Regions from separate parts of the Homo sapiens genome. Here region 1 is linked to region 2. The links are contacts of gene promoters, found by promoter capture Hi-C in blood cells and fetal thymus (Javierre and others, 2016). All regions are on one chromosome and are shown on one strand. The core of a region is centred on a gene start or on the middle of the fragment in contact, and the rest is flanking DNA. Distances in the headings are between cores, read along the strand shown. Region 1 holds the start of ATL1 (atlastin GTPase 1). Region 2 holds the start of ARF6 (ARF GTPase 6).

The links. The method cuts DNA at HindIII sites, captures the fragments that hold promoters and counts their contacts. A CHiCAGO score of 5 or more calls a contact.
Region 1: a contact is called between the fragment with the promoter of ATL1 here and the fragment with the promoter of ARF6 in region 2, in 1 of 17 cell types (fetal thymus). The highest score is 5.3, in fetal thymus.

Annotation. Positions count from the first base shown.
Region 1 is chr14:50,558,857-50,562,290 of GRCh38, reverse strand. ATL1 (atlastin GTPase 1) reads right to left here and starts at 2,146. Exons shown (of 14, transcript NM_015915.5): 1 at 1,992-2,146. The coding sequence starts at 2,025. It also overlaps a transcript of MAP4K5 not described here. RefSeq lists a silencer at 1,452-1,811 and an enhancer at 1,553-2,052. The HindIII fragment of the contact is 3,968 bases long and covers 284-3,434 here.
Region 2 is chr14:49,891,720-49,894,900 of GRCh38, reverse strand. It overlaps ARF6 (ARF GTPase 6), which reads right to left and starts at 1,819. Exons shown (of 2, transcript NM_001663.4): 1 at 1,744-1,819; 2 at 1-1,645. The coding sequence starts at 1,164. The coding sequence ends at 637. RefSeq lists enhancers at 890-939, 970-1,289, 2,160-2,259 and silencers at 1,450-1,639, 1,680-2,069. The HindIII fragment of the contact is 6,329 bases long and covers 1-3,181 here.

The sequences.
Region 1 (3,434 bases), core at 897-3,396, 670 kb before region 2:
GGGCGGATCACGAGGTCAGGAGATCGAAACCATCCTGGCTAACATGGTGAAACTCTGTCTCTACTAAAAATACAAAAAATTAGCCGGGCACGGTGGCAGGCGCCTGTAGTCCCAGCTGCTCGGGAGGTTGAGGCAGGAGAATGGCGTGAACCCGGGAGGTGGAGCTTGCAGTGAGCCCAGAAGGCACCACTGCACTCCAGCCTAGGCGACAGAGCAAGACTCCATCTCAAAAAAAAAAAAGTTTATAGCCAAAGGAAATTCTGCGCAATAATGATCCAAAGCTTCATAAAGGAGAAAAATTTTAATCCTCAGAATACATTTTCACATGCTTCTGTTAACAGGGTGGAGACAACAATTCATGGAGACTGAGACCAAAAGTGACTTGAATATACGCACCCTAATTGTGTGTGTTCAATAAATTCCTATTCTAGAGGCCAAGAGAACGGGTGGAAAGGGGATACACTGCAAATGCTTACTTAAATTTCAGAAGAAGGAAATAAAACTTATTGCAATAGTCAGGTAGGTCTGTTAAAACTGAAGTTTCATGATCTCAGAAAATGGAACCACTTTCTCTTAAACTCAGCTAAGTCATGACAGACCTCCCCGCTCCAACTCTCCATGCCTACCACAAACCTTGGATAATCTCCCAAATGTAAACCTTGTCTACCGTATCCTGTGACCATTAGAACAATCAGAGGCAAGGAGATACACGGTCTTTTGATTAAAGTAAACTGAAATAACCAATTAAAATTTACATTTGTGCCTCTCGCTCAAATAAACAGTTATAGAAGAGCTCTCACTGAGATGTGGAACAGAATCAAGCAGCTCTGAACTTTTCAAATAATAACAACTGTTATTTCCAAATAACAATTTCTAAATAACAAGCTGATGAACAAAATATTTATTTACCCACCAAGCCACAGTAGCCTGAGACATTCTCTGGTTCAGATAATAAAATAAATGCCTTAGAGGGCTTTCGTTCCTAAGATGCTGGTGAGTTTAGCACTGTGACTGCAAGAAATCGGGAACCTACGACAAAAAGACGCCCAGCCTGCCCACACTAACCGTCCAGAACTAGGTCTGGAGCAGCAAGGCGGGCGGGGCCGCGATTTCTTCCGCATCGCTGCGCCCGTTCTTCTCCGCCTGCGTGAGCACCGCCCACCCACTCGCGGTGTGAACATACTGGGTCTCGCCTCTCCTTTCCCCTCCCCTCGGCCTGGTGCTGAATCATGAGCCCAATGTCTCCAAAAGGTAAAATCAAAGAACAAAGCCACCCTTGGGGCTGGTCTGAATGGGGTACCACGTCGGGGTGGGGCAGAAGGCTGGAAACCACAACTTTGCTCTCCTTCTTCCCCAATTCCCCCACCCAACCCCCAAATTAAGAGGAGTACTGCAGTGCTCAGGAATTCCCAAGAGGGTGGCCCTTCTCCCAGTTGCTCGGTCTGCTACCGTCCGTCCGGGACCCGGCGCGCTCCGCCTCATTGTTCCAGCGCGCCGCCCGCCGCCCGCCGCCGGGAGCCCGCGCCCTGCAGAGCCAGCGAGTTGGCGGCTCCCGGGGAGGGGGGTTGGGGCTTGGCCTGCTCTAGATCCCCGACCCCTCGCCCCTCTGGGGCCGAGTAACAACAGCCCCCTGCCCACCCCCATAGCCTTCCTCCCAACCGATCGCTAAGGCGGAACCCACAAGTCCCCGGAGGCGCCTGGTGGGTGCTGTCCAAATGCTGGGAGGAGGCGGGAGGGGGGTGGGGAAGAAGGAGCTGGAGGCCCGGCCTGCGCGAAGCTGCAGCCCTCACCCCGACAGCGCGATTCGGTGACGCGGGTACCGCTCGGCCATGGTTCCTCCGCCCAAACAGGGAGCGGCTCGGCTACGGCCCGTCTCCCAGCCGTGGACGCAGGCACCTAGCAGCCCTTGGCCCTCCCTGTCTCCACAGAAGCAGAAAGTGGAGGGCCAGAAGACCCCGTGCAGGCTGCAGAAGTTCTCATTTGCTACTCACCCCAACTGTTTCTGTCCCTGCGGTTCTTGGCCATGGTGGTCCAGGAGCTGGTGGCGGTGAGGCGCTGTCACTGCGCTCGCTGCCTTCTCCGGGGCCGCAGGTTGCTGGCGGTGGGAGGCTCCGTGCCCGCGCTGGGCGCAGTTCGCTCAGACTCTGAGGATGTTGCTGTGGCGCTGGTGGGAAGGAGTGGGGAGGAAAAGGGAGGAGAAAGCAGATGAACCAAGCTCAGCATCACAAGCCCGAGTTCACACAGATACCAGCGTCACACCCTCCCTACCTCAGTCCACCCCCAGACCGTGAAGACAGTGATAGACCACGTACCGCAACATTTTCAACGGAAAACACAAACAAATAAACAGCACCCCCCTCGAACACACTCTCAAAGAATTTAACAGCGTTATCAGAAATACACAAACCGATATACTGCATGATTCTGGATGTTCAAATACCTGTTTCAAGCACGGTTATACATTAGTACAAACAAGCTGGCAACATTTATATAGCCAAAGTAGCTAAAATAATGTGCATTTATCTACGAGGCACCCATTTTTTTTTCCATTTTAAAAGCAAGGTCATGTTAGTAAAGAGGGTATCATGCATTTTTGTATATGTATACTGAGTAGTTTGTCTTAAAATTAGAATAGCAAAATTTATATCAAGAAGATCAAGATAAATGAAAGCTGTAGATTCATTACGATCTGTAACTCAATATCCACTGGGTAAAATTTCCCACTAGATTTGCAAAGATAAGGTCCAGACCTATAGTCCAATAGCAATTATTTGAGCTGAAATCATACTACATAGTCTGGGTATGGGTGGGCCCTGGCAGCCATAAAGGTTGCAGACAATTTTGAAAGGAAAAGAAAAAAAATAAAAATACTTTCAATCTTTCCCTTTTCACTGCTTTCTCTCTGCTACAAACTTAGTTGTTTTCAGTAACCTGGAAACACTGTCCCTTTATACTACCTCAACCTCAAGATACCATCATGCCGTCCCTTACAGTTTCCTTCTGCCATTTGGTTGTTACTCACACTCTGTACTGATCGGTTCTTAGGAGATCACTGCCAGCCTCTTAATTACCAGATCCATGATCTCTGCTAATTCCTCATGGTAAGCAACTCCTCACGCTACACTCTCTCAATGTAATTTACTATGATGGCTTCAGACAGGACCTCCATGCTGATGATTCCCAAATCTATACTTGTAGTCTTCTGCCCTCTAGAAGAGAGGACATTATACCAGAGGTGTGTTTATAACTGCCTAAGGTTATCCTCACGTTGTTTTCCTACTGACATTTGAACATCAACATATCTGAAAACAAACTCCCCCACCACTGCCAAATCTTATGCATTATATTTCAGTTACTGGTTCTAGTGACTGCAGAGTCGTGAACACTGTAACCAAGTTTACAACATGGTTTTAAAGAAGTCTGTGCTCAACAGA
Region 2 (3,181 bases), core at 570-3,069:
CATTATTTGCCACTGTGGGCTAAGTTTACTATACTGGTCTTAGATATAAAAGGTCACATTTGAAATTACTAAGTTAGAACTCATAAGGAAGGGGGGGGAAGGCCTTAAATATAAAAGACAAACGGCAGTTTGATTAAGCAATAATTTTCAGTTTACTAGATGAAACAGACTTGCAACATAGTCTGCATGAATGCAAAATAAGCCATCTACAGCAAGTGATAAGGAAACTGGGCAAAAAAGGAAAAAAGCATACATAGGAAAATGAAAGATTCTCTCGAAATAAAAAAATCAAACTATTATTACAAAGGACTTTACCAAGAACTGCTGTGTTTCCCCCATCCCATCTGCTGGAAGTCAACAAGAGCATCTAGCAACTTTGTGTTCATGTCAAATGTCAGATCAGAGCATCCTAACGCAAAGCCAACAAAAAAAAAAAAAAAAAAAAAAGGAAAAAGAAAGGGAAACAAACAAAAGAGAAAACCCCCAAGCCCCGTCCCCGCCAAACTGTAGAACAGTAACTCCAGAGTTCAAATTCAAAAGAAGAGAAAGTGGCAATTGAAAGAGGTGATGGTGGCGATAATCCTATGAATGGGTTTTTGATTTCTCTCCTTCCAGGGGATGGGTGGAGAATGCTCATTAAGATTTGTAGTTAGAGGTTAACCATGTGAGCCCCTCATAGAGTCCGTCCCCTGAGGTGGCACAGGAGGGCTGCACATACCAGTTCCTGTCCCGAATCCGGGTCAGGCCCAGTTTCTCCTGGATCTCGTGGGGTTTCATGGCATCGGGCAGGTCCTGCTTGTTGGCGAAGATGAGGATTATGGCGTCCCTCATCTCCCGGTCATTGATAATGCGGTGCAGCTCCTGGCGAGCCTCATCGATGCGGTCGCGGTCGGCGCAGTCCACTACGAAGATGAGACCTTGGGTCCCAGTGTAGTAATGCCGCCAGAGCGGCCGGATCTTGTCCTGGCCGCCCACATCCCATACGTTGAACTTGACATTTTTGTAAGTCACCGTCTCCACGTTGAAACCCACAGTGGGAATGGTGGTCACCGACTGGCCCAGCTTCAACTTGTACAGGATTGTTGTCTTGCCGGCCGCGTCCAGGCCCAACATGAGGATCCGCATTTCCTTGTTCCCGAAGATTTTGGATAGCACCTTCCCCATCGCGTCGGAGGAGCCGGGGCCGGGGGCATTCAGGTGTCCCGGGTCCCCTCAGCCAACAACGCCGCCGCCGCCGCGAAACCGAAACGAAGCCTCTCGGCCGCGAGAGCGCCTTTGCGGCCTGCGTGGGAGTTGCCTCCTAAGGGCAGAGGCCCAGGCCCCCCGCTCACTCGGGCATCACCGACCGCACAACTTGATTTCTCCAGTCGCCGCCGCCACCCGGGCCCTGAGACTGCGCTGGGAGCCGCCGCCCTGCTGAGGCGCGGCCCGGCCCGGAACTGCCCTTCCCCCCGCAGGCGCCGCGCGAGCGCCGCCGCGGTTCCCGCTCCTCCGCCTTCCTCTCACCGCGAGGGAGACTGCAGCCCTCCGGCCCGCCCGCCGGCCTGCGAGCACTGGGCTCCCCACCGACCCAGGACACCCGAGAGGCAGCGCGGCTCCGGGGCCCCGTCAGGTCATGGATCCTCGCGGGAACTCGGTGCGCTGCCTGCAGAGAAACAGAGAGGGAGGGGAGTTACTGCCAGAGCTCCACAAAGGAGCGAAGACCGAGGTGGCCCGCCTTTCCAGCTCGGCCCAAGGGGTTACCTCCAGCCGCCGCCCCGAGCGCGGGCTCCCTCCGGCCTCCAACTCCTCCTCCCAGTTCTGCCGCCGCCGCTGCCGGAAAAGGCGCCGAGGAAACCGCCTCACTTCCCCTCCCGACCACGCAGGCGCAGCAGAGGCCGACCGTTCGGACAAGAGCGACCTCTGTAAGGAGAGCGGCCCGCGCGCCTAGCGTCATGGGCGCCACGCGCCGGAGGGGCGGGGCTACGGCGCCTCGGAGGGCTCGCAGATGCGGCCGGCCCAGAGCCCTCGAACCTCGGACTCTGACTCGCGCCTACCCGTGGCTCTTCTAGCGTCTCCTTCCCTGCTTTTCTCTTTTGCGCTCTGCCCTCCCCTGCCCACCCGAACCAAGGGAGCAGATCTACTGGGGGGCCCTACAGGGTGGGGCCCACGGGCAGCCCGCTCTCTCCACGAACCGAGCTGCCTCCAGGCCTGTTCCCAGACCTCGGTGCCCGCCAGATGCTCTGCGAATTCCCTCCGCCCGCCCCAGCCTTCCCGCACCCTCCGCGCTCCCTGAACGTCCCAGGGAAGCTCTGTTCGCTTTTGTTTTTTTTTTTTTTCCCTTTTTCGCAACCCCTTCTTGGCTTCCTTTATCCCTTGAATTTTGTATGTTTCCTGAAAGACACGTGGGAGGCCAGTGTCTCGTGTGGAATCTGCCAGTCAGTGCAGCGCTTTCCCGGAGTTGAGTTTACTCTGCAGCTCTTTTGAATGTTTGAGCCCTGTCTGCCTATAGGTCTCGTCAAGACCAGCCCATGTTTCTTAAAAACTGCAGTATTATGAAGAGTTCCTGTGCCTTGCCGCGTTTTCACCTTTTTAGAATGCGACATCTGTTCATCTTTAAAATATCATTTTATCTCATACTGTTAGTAGTAGCTTCTTAACTACTACCCATTCTTAACTTTAAGAAGCATAGAATTTAGAATATAGAACGACCGCTTGTATGGCCTGGATCTGGGCACTTAACCTTACTAAGTTTATCTCGTGTAAACTGACCTTGCTAACTCACGTGAGGCTTAAATAATACAATGTGGAAGACTTCAGGGCACATTTTTGGTTTTTTGGTTTTTGTTTGTTTCTTGAGACGGGGTCTCACTCTGTCGCCCAGGCTGGAGTCCAGTTGCACAATCTCGGCTCACTGCAGCCTCCTCATCCTGGGTTCAAGCAGTTCTGCCTTAGCCTCCGGAGCAGCTGGAATTAGGTCGCCCACCACCACGCCCGGCTAATTTTTGTATTTTTAGTAGAGACGGGGTTTCACCATGTTGGCCAGGCTGGTCTCGAAGTCCTGACCTCAGGTGATCCACCCGCCTCGGCCCCCCAAAATGCTGGGATTACAGGCGTGAGCCACTGCGCCCTGCCAAGGACACATTTTTGTATCAAATGGTTAATGATAAAATTAGACTTAAAATAACGTGAAACCTTCAAA